3 separate regions of the Homo sapiens genome follow, and all the other regions are linked to region 2. Evidence: promoter capture Hi-C in 16 types of primary human blood cells and fetal thymus (Javierre and others, 2016). All regions are on one chromosome and are shown on one strand. Each heading gives the region's core, a stretch centred on a gene start or on the middle of the fragment in contact. The rest is flanking DNA. Distances are from core to core; before and after follow the strand shown. Region 1 has its middle 9.0 kb from the start of RPTN. Region 2 holds the start of LCE5A (late cornified envelope 5A). Region 3 holds the start of TCHHL1 (trichohyalin like 1).

Region 1 (2,991 bases), core at 399-2,898, 360 kb before region 2:
TTTGCTCCAGTTCCCAAAAAGTTTCTCATTTCCATCTGAGACCTCATCAGCCTGGGCTTCACTGTTCATATTTCAATCAGTATTTTGGTCACAACCACTTAGCAAGTCTTGGAGAAGTTCCAAACTTTCCCTTATCTTCCTGTCTTTTTCTGAGACCTCCAAATTCTTCCAGTATCTGCCCATTACCCAGTTCCAAAGCTGTTTCCACATCTTCAGGTATCTTTATAGCAACACCCTACTCTCAGTACCAATTTTCTGTATTAGTACATTTTGCATTGTTATAAGAAATAATAAAAGACTGGGTAATTTATAAAGAAAGGAGGTTTATTTTGGATCATAGCTCTTCAGATTGTACAAGAAGTGTGATGCCAGCATCTACTTCTGGTGAAAGCATTAGGAAGCTTTTAGTCATGGTGGAAAGTGAAGGGCAAACAGGCATGTCACATGGCAGGAGAGAGAGCAAAAGAGAGAAGGAAGAGGTCCCAGGCTCTTTTAAACAACCAGATCTCACATGACCTCATGGAGTGAGAACTCACTCATTACCACAAGGACATCACCAAGACATTCATGAAGAATCTGCCCCTATGACCCAAATACCGCCCACTAGGCCCCACCTCCAACATTGGGGATCACACTTTAATGTGAGATTTGGAAGAGACACATACCCAAATCATATCAAAATGTATTTGTTAAGCTTCTATTAAAATAATGTAGGAGAAGAAAAGATAATGCATACCAAGTAAATGAACAAGGAGAGATCAGATTATAAATCACTTTTGTATATATCATCTGTATTTATCTCTAAGAAACTTTAGAATTTTTAAACTTTGGAATTTTTTCTTCAGCTTTTATTTTTAGCTTTAGAGGGTACATGTGTAAGTTTGTTACATAGACATATTGCGTGACAGTGAGGTTTGGGGTATGAATCCCATCATCCAGGTGTTGAGCTTAGTACCCAATAGGAAGTTTTTCAATGTACACTCATTTCCCTCCTTCCCCACTCTAGTGGTCCCCAGTGTATATTGTTCCCATCTTTATGTCCATGTGTACTCAGTGTTTAGCTCCCACTTATAAGTGAGAACATGTGGTATTTTGTTTTCTGTTTCTGCATTAATTTGCTTAGAATAATGGCCTGTAGCTGCATCCATATTGCTGCAAAGGACATGATTTTGTTCGTTTTTTATGGCTGTGTAGTATTCCATGGTGTATATGTACTATATTTTCTTTATCCAATCCACCATTGATAGGAATCTAGGTTGATTCCATGTCTTTGCTATTGTGAATAATGCTGCAATAAACATATAAGTGCATGTGTCTTTTTGGTAGAAGTCTTTATTTTCTTTTGGGTATGTACCCAGTAATGGGATATAGCTCTGTTTTAAGTTCTTTGAGAAATCTTCAAACTGCTTACCATGGTGGTTGAATTAATTTATATTCCAACAACAGTGTATAAGTATTCTCTTTTCTCCACAGCCTTGCCAGCATCAGTTATTTGTTGACTTTTTAATAATAGCCATTCTGACTGGTGTGAGATTGTATCTTATTGTGGTTTTGATTTGCATTTCTCTGATGATTAATGATGAGCATTTTTTCATGTTTGTTGGCTGGCTGCTTGTATGTTTTCTTTTGAAAAGTGTTTCTCAAGTCCTTTGCCCATTTTTTAATAGGGTTATTTGTTTTTCTCTTGTTGATTTAAGTTCCTTATAGATATTGAATATTGGACCTTTGTTGGATTAATAGTTTGCAAACATTTTCTCCCATTTTGTAGGTTTTCCATTTACTCTGTCTGTGGCTTCTTTTGCTGTGCAGAAGCTCTTTAGTTTGATTAGGTTCCACTTGTTAATTTTTGTTTTTTAAACTGGATTTTTAAACCCCATTTTACAGATGCAAAAACTGAGACTTAAAGAGACAATTTTTTTTAAGATCATAAAATTGGTAAGTGGTGAAGGCAGGTTTTAAATATAAGTCTTTTAAAAATTTTAAATCTCAGCTTCATGTATGTAATTGGTCAGTCACTGTGCTCGATGTGAAATATACAACTGTGAATAAGATGCAATTTCTGACTTCTGGGACCTTACTGCTTGGTGGGAAACACATGGGTTTAAAATTTACTTCAATGCAATCTGATAAGCTGTATGCTGATGATAGGTGCAGAAGGTGGTGCCAGTCCCAAGAATGGGTAGGATTTTGGCAGACAAAGATCAGGACAGCGTTTAAGTGGAAGAAATTGTATAAGCAATGACGTGGAGGCTAGGAAGTTGTCCTGTTAAGTTGGAGTCTAGGGGCATTGTTGGAAACTGAGTTGGAAATGTACACTGAAGCCAGATCATGGAGGGCTTCTATGAGCATTCAACCAACACTTATTTATTGGATGTACATCATGACAAGCTATTGTCCGAAATGCAAGAGAACAGCAGCAAACAAGACAAACAAAATCCTTGTTCTTATGGGCCTTACATTCCAGTAGGGAGAAAAAGATAATAAATGAGTAGCATAAAAACAAGGTATCAAACATGAAAAGTGTTAAGAACATTGGCAGCACAAATGAGGAATATATGGTAGAGGCTGATTGGGGTGATACTTTTTTAAAATAAATGCCAGAGAAAGCTTCTGTCACGAGGTGACTTTTTAACTGAGACCTGAATGAAATAAGGATTGAGCCACACCAAGATCGAGAAGAAGACTATTCTGATCAAAAGAAATAGCTGGTTCAAAGGTCTCCCGGTGGGGATCAGCTTGTCCTGCTAGAATCATGGAAAGAAGGCCAGAGTGATTAGAAAACAGTGATGCAGAGGACAATGGTGAAAGATGAGACTTTGCAGGGCCCCATCCTATAGGAAGGTCCTGAGAACAAAGCTGGATTTTATTCTCAATGTGGAGGGAAACTACTGGGAATTTCATGTAGGGAGTGGCACAATGTGGTCTACCTTTTTGAAAGGGATGGGGAGTCCCATCAGGAAGCTGTGTTCTAGGAGAGGTGACCTGGACTGG
Region 2 (3,319 bases), core at 141-2,640:
TTAGTTTTGGTTTCAAAATTGGCAGGTCAGTAATTTGAAATTTAGCATATATTTTCTCATGGAAATAAGGATAGCCATAGTGATTAGTTTTTTCTTTTTTAAACTTGCAGTTCTAGGAACTGTGCTAAGAACTTCATCTGTATTTCTTTATTCAGTGGATTAGGAATGTTTTCAGCCCCCTTTTCCAGTGATGGTTAAGTAACTTGCCAGAGGTTGCACAGGTGGAGAGAGCAAGGGTGGGAACTGATGCTGGATGTCCCTCTCCAGGGTCTGTGTTATAACTGGGCTGATGCTTCTCACTGCAGCCCATTTCAAAGAGCATGGAGCTAAGGTACTGCCTTTTTCTCCCAGTCTTATTTTCTCTCACTGCAGCTTTCATTGTGAATATGCCATATTTTGGCCACCCTTTCCAGCTAAGTCAATTTTGATAACTATCCTGGGGACCCAACTTTCCCTCAGAATATTGTTTGCTGAGAAAATGTTTTGGATCCCACCATGGGCTTTTAAAACCTATATACTCCTCCTCTTCACCTCTCCATCCAAAGATTAATCTTCTCCTGAGGTCCTTCCCAGGTTGGATGCTCTTCTCTTATGAATGACCAGAACTGGTGCCTCACTTCTGGAAACCTCCAGATGAGTGGAGAGCTTTTGCTCCACCCTCAGTATACACCTGGTCTTTGCTGCCTCACCTCGAGCTGGCCAAGGGCACCTTCTTTAACACGAGTAAATAAGCCATTCCTAGACTTCTGCCCTTTTAAAGGCATTGTTAGTGCTGAATCGGTACTGTTTGTGAGCAGTTTTGGAGCATCAAATTCAGGCAAGGAGAGAAGCCCAACCACCCACACTGTCAGCATTAGATCTGCCTAAAATAACATCACTGAGATATCAAACCTTCCTTGTTCTGGTTATGGCATCATCTAGAAATGAAAAAAAAATCATGTTAGATTATTTGCTTGGGCCTACAATTTTATTTTGGATCTCTATTATTATTCTAAAAAGGGCCATTTAATTTCCATCTTGGGAATTTTCTCCTTCAGTTCCTATACCAAAGAGAAAACAGAACTTCTGTTCATTCCAGAGGTGTAGAGCCGTATTGGCCCAGCTCAGAAAATAGAAGGCATAGCAGAGCTGCCTGTGAGATAGATAGGTGCCATGTGCAATTCACAGAGCTCCCTCACCATCCTAGAGGCCTGCAGTTCTCAGGGGATCTTCCTGTGGGTTAATACTTGAGATGCTTATGCAGGGAGGAACTGGGTCCCTGGGATGCGAGGGGAGGGAGTCACCCATGCCTTTATGAAAGATGCTTCTAGCGTCCCGCACATGGTCTGCACCTCCTGATGCTAGGTCAGGACTGAATTGTATAAAAGGCAGAAGCTTCTGACAGCACCTCAGTCTACCTGTCTCCTGAGTGATCTGCTGCAGTGCCTGAACCAGGTAGAGTGCTTCTCAGGACCAGGATGAACTCTTGGTGCTGGTGTTTTGGGCAGAAAGAGCCCCTGGGTGGAGGTTGAGGCCATTCTTGAAGAAAGACAAGGATAAAGAAGGATTTTGGAGGGGAAGGTTCTTCTGGAAGGGGAGGGTGGAAGGTAGGTAAAAGGAATGAAGGACTGATGCCTTTCTGAAGTTCCAAGTTATTCATTTGAAAATATGGAGTTACTAGGTGGAAATCATTTGTATCATTCTTGTTACTGGTCTTGGGAGACTGGGTTTTTAAAATCTGGTTCATCTTAGGCCAGGAGTAGTGGCTCATGCCTGTAATCCCAGCACTTTGGGAGGCTGAGGTGGGCGGGTCAAGAGGTCAGGAGTTCGAGACTGACCAACATGCTGAAATCCCGTCTCTACTAAAAACACAAAAATTAGCTGGGTGTGGTGGTGCACACCTGTCTGAGGCAGGAGAATCACTTGAATCCGGGAGGTGGAGGTTGCAGTGAGCCGAGATAGCACCACTGCACTCCAGCCTGAGTGACAGAGTGAGACTCCATCCCAAATAATAATAATAATCATAATAATAAATTCTGGTCATCTTAGAGATAAAATCTTGTGAAATTATAGTTCAATTTTAAGGGCAAGGAAGTGACCTTGGGCTTGTATTGTCTTTCAGCTTTATTCAGCTTCTACAGAGATGTCCTGCCAGCAGAGCCAGCAGCAGTGCCAGCCTCCTCCCAAATGTACCCCTAAATGCCCTCCCAAGTGTACTCCTAAGTGTCCTCCCAAGTGTCCCCCAAAATGCCCTCCCCAGTGTTCAGCCCCATGCCCACCTCCAGTCTCTTCCTGCTGTGGTTCCAGCTCTGGGGGCTGCTGCAGCTCTGAGGGTGGTGGCTGCTGCCTGAGCCACCACAGGCCCCGCCAGTCCCTCCGACGCCGACCTCAGAGTTCCAGCTGCTGTGGCAGTGGCAGTGGCCAGCAGTCTGGGGGCTCCAGCTGCTGCCACAGCTCTGGGGGCTCTGGCTGCTGCCACAGCTCTGGAGGCTGCTGCTGACCTGGGCCATGAGGAGCACGGAGGAGAAGGACTGGCAGATCCCAGGTGCTGAAGATGTGTGTCAGCCTGAGGCTTCTTTTCTCTCATTTCCCATGGAAGGACTTCGGAAATGCCTTAAGTTCCCCTCTTTATCCTGCCCATGTTCACTCCATTGTAGGGTTGAAGTCTAGCTTGTGATATTTTCTGGCCTGGCTTTCCCTCTCAGACATAGCTCTTTGGAGAACTAGGTGTTGTAATTCAGTTATGAAGCTATTTTCTCTGTAACAATAAAGCTTTTTATTCCTGATATCACTGCCTCCTGATTTCATTGTTTGCCTCTCCCACTCCCTACCTGCTGCATCAAGCCATCTTCCCTTCCCTTCTCTTAAATGCAAGCGAACACTTTACAAACTTGTTTAGGAAGCACATTTTGGCAGTGAAGCTACTTAGGCCTCTGGAAAACAATATTTCCTTCTATGCACTGGATTCTGGAACTTTAAGCTTGAAGGAAAGAATAATGTCTGAGACCATTACGCCAGACACAAGATTGTATGAGGAGAGCCAGGAATGGGTTTGAAGAGAAGAGGATGGTTGTACTCAAAAGGTTCAGGTTCTGAGAGGGTTTCCTTCAAGCATGGGTCACAGTTTGAAAAATTGCTTGTCCCCATTCATGGGGAATAAGATTGCCTGAAGTGCTCATCCTGGGCTCTAATAAATGGACACTCTTTACTTTTCTGATTATTATAAGCTCAGGTGTTTCCATCAGTTGGCTAGAGGGAGAGCTGGGTGGGCAGTGAGTGAGTTTTGGAGGCAGATATGAAACGTCTGAGCACATTTTCCCTGCATGCTGAAATCCTGGAT
Region 3 (2,947 bases), core at 43-2,542, 420 kb before region 2:
CCAACTGCTCCACTTTCTTCAGGGATGAGCTGAGATGATGATGCCATTCCTGAAGGAAGCATCCTCTTTTCTTGAGTTGGTGAAGTTCCCACTGTCCACTGACCATCTCCGGTGGTTGCCTGAACATCCACATCATCTAGCTTCTCCTTCTCTGGTTTAGTCACCTGTCTTAGTTCAGAACTTAGTAATGATTTTATGTCAAGATAACAGAGGTTCAACAAGTTGAAGATTGCAAGAACAAATTCATCAAAACTGATGATGCCATTACTGTCAATATTCAGAAGATTTGAATTTTTTTCCACAGCATGAAGGACACAGGGCTGCATGAAAACACAGTGAGAAATCAGCTTATTTATATGTGGTCCAGTGTCCTAAGTGTCTCCCAAGAATCCTATTTTTCTGACCTCATTCCTCAGTAACTGGTTAACTTTCCCAGAACAGCAAGAACTTATTGGTTCTGCAAGCCATTTTTCATCAGAGAGCTATGCCTGAGAAAGAGCATTTACAACACTTGTGAGTTGCATTTTGATGCATAATGGTTTATGACTCCTTTCAGAAGTCAGCTTTGCAGAAGCAATAATCCCAGTGACGAAAACCTCTTTTTCTCTAAGTAATTGCACAGAGTATGGAACTGAGACTGAAAATAGTTGTTCAAGAGACAGTGAGTGCTGAGAACTGTTAGCTAGGTGTAAAATGGATGGGGATCACATATGCTCATCTTGCTTGGATTATAAAGAAAGGGTGAGTTGGAAAGAATTTACACAGCTCTGTGAGAAGCTCACCTGAAAAAAGTCCCCAAACTCGCCCTGGATGAGTTGTTTCAGCTCTCTGCCAGTCAGTGTTGCCCCGTTACTGTCCTCACTGGCATATTTGTGGAATGTCTCAATTACACAGAGGACATTTCTCAGGAGCTGAGGCATCTTTACAAACTCAGGAGAGGCTGTGAGAAAGAATAAACAAAGCTCATTTTCCAGGATGGGTCCTTCAGGGAGGAGATACCAAGATTATCCTTTTTGTTCCTCCCCCATCTCCACTGCAACCCCTGCTCTATTCTGTATCTTAAAATATTATATCTGAACTCCAGGGGTGATTTAGTATTGTACCAGACATTGTGGTGAAATCAGACCCAGCATAGGTAAGTATTAGAAGAGACAATTCACCCCACTCTTCAGTAAACAGCAACATTCATGTGCTCAGAGAAAGCTTCATTGCAAAAGGAAGGTGATAAGAGAACTCAAGCATAAGGATTGAAATGCATAAATGAAGCCAATAGAGTTGGACCCATTCTTCCAGCCTCATCCAAGAGTGTCTATCTGCTCTCCTCTCCCTTTGGCTCAGTCTAGCCTCCTGCGGTTAGGAGGGTATAACCTTTAAAGTTAGCAAAGCTTCTAGTGGAAAGATAAGTCACACCAAGAAAATTAACCCCTATGTTTGCAGGTGGTAACAACATGCTTTAACCAAGAAGACATGATTCCATGTCCCGACCCCTTATTCATTCATTTCCCATCCTTTAAATGCTTCTACATTTTCATTGCAATAGAGATCTGATCCTGTGCCTTGTTGAATAATATTCATGCCTATGACTTCTAAACAATTTATGTTTTTTTTAAAAAGAAAATGATCAAAGAAGTTCCATAATCAAGGAATGCATTTGGGTGGTTGGCGCTCCCAGTTTATTATTATTAATAGGGGTTGACATAGACTTAAAGTGTGTTTCCTTTGAAATCCTCTTGCAATCTCACATATAAGCAAAACAGCAACTGAAATCCCAAGTATGCTCAAGCAGATGGACTTACCTAGTTCACAAGCGAGAGCAGGTAGAACGTGGGGCAGCGGGCTGTGAGCTGACAGCAGGAGCTGGAACCTTTTATTGAGGTCCTAATTGCACAGTTAAGAAGGAGACACCCTCTGGGTCTAATGACCTGACATCACCACCAAATCCAGTCTCCCCTGCTCTGTTGTCAGTTGTCTTAATTTTATTTCCTTCTTTAGGCAGTTTCAATTAAATCTTAGCTTCAGATGCATCAAAAGAAAGGGGAGGGGGTTTCTTGATTCATTTACTGACTTTTGCAGATTATAGTTTTGAAGGCTCTTCAAGGTAGTGTTGGCTTCCCTCCCCCATTTTTTAACCTAAGGACATAATTACATTTCTGTCTGACAAATCATAGTGCTGGCAGGGACCTCATAAGTCATCTGATTCCTCTGTCTGCCCACAAGATGGCCCGTATTTGACCCAAACCTGAGAGATGGGTGTCAATCATGTGTTTAAAAATAAAGGCCCCCATTTAGCCATGTGACAAAAGTGGAGATACCAGTTGATTCAGATGTTTCAATGCTTTGCTCTCCTTGCCCAGAGGCAGAGTTAGAAAAAAAAAAAAATTCTTGCTTGGTGTGCAAAGCCTTGCTTACCTATGTTGTGCTATTTTAAAAACGTGATTGATATTTGCTTTCTAAAGACATTTTTACTATACAAGGAGCTTGAAACCAATAATCTATATTACTGTGTTCTCCCTGTAAAGGGGAAAGGGAGATGTTGAAATCATCAAGCTGAGAACAGAAGTGAGTCTGAGATGCTGAACTGGCAAACATTTTAATTGTCTCCTAGATCTGGGTCCTTCTTAGTAGAGAATATTTAATAAAATAAGAATTAGATTCAATGGTTTTCTTAGATATTTTTAAAAAATAGAGTATGTTTTAAAACACTCCTTGTCAAAGGATGGAAGAAATAGACAGATCAATGCAAACAAATATAAAAGACACAGACCAAGTTAAAGATGGGGTGGGAATGGGGGTAATTATATGAGAAAGCTGAAGCTAAGGGATGCATTGCTATTGAGCAAAAACCTTATTCTGAATTTCCTGATTATCGAGGAACATACAAGGGAACTAAATTTTGGGGAAAAACATTCATACTGATACTTTACACCTACAAACAATTTCTCAGCAT

The links. Contacts are between HindIII fragments. The CHiCAGO score rates a contact against its expected background, and 5 or more counts as called.
Region 1: a fragment that was not itself captured here is called in contact with the fragment with the promoter of LCE5A in region 2 in 1 of 17 cell types (total CD4 T cells); the score reaches 5.2 in total CD4 T cells.
Region 3: a contact is called between a fragment that was not itself captured here and the fragment with the promoter of LCE5A in region 2, in 4 of 17 cell types (naive B cells, M0 macrophages, total CD4 T cells and 1 more). The highest score is 7.2, in naive B cells.

What each region holds. Positions count from the first base shown.
Region 1 is chr1:152,148,694-152,151,684 of GRCh38, forward strand. No RefSeq gene overlaps it. Among named protein-coding and RNA genes, the nearest start is that of RPTN, 9.0 kb to the right of the region's middle. The HindIII fragment of the contact is 1,913 bases long and covers 693-2,605 here.
Region 2 is chr1:152,509,413-152,512,731 of GRCh38, forward strand. It overlaps LCE5A (late cornified envelope 5A), which reads left to right and starts at 1,391. Exons shown (of 2, transcript NM_178438.5): 1 at 1,391-1,586; 2 at 2,102-2,765. The coding sequence starts at 2,123. The coding sequence ends at 2,479. The HindIII fragment of the contact is 1,377 bases long and covers 1,373-2,749 here.
Region 3 is chr1:152,087,224-152,090,170 of GRCh38, forward strand. TCHHL1 (trichohyalin like 1) reads right to left here and starts at 1,841. Exons shown (of 3, transcript NM_001008536.2): 1 at 1,797-1,841; 2 at 783-940; 3 at 1-320. The coding sequence starts at 920. The HindIII fragment of the contact is 182 bases long and covers 1,202-1,383 here.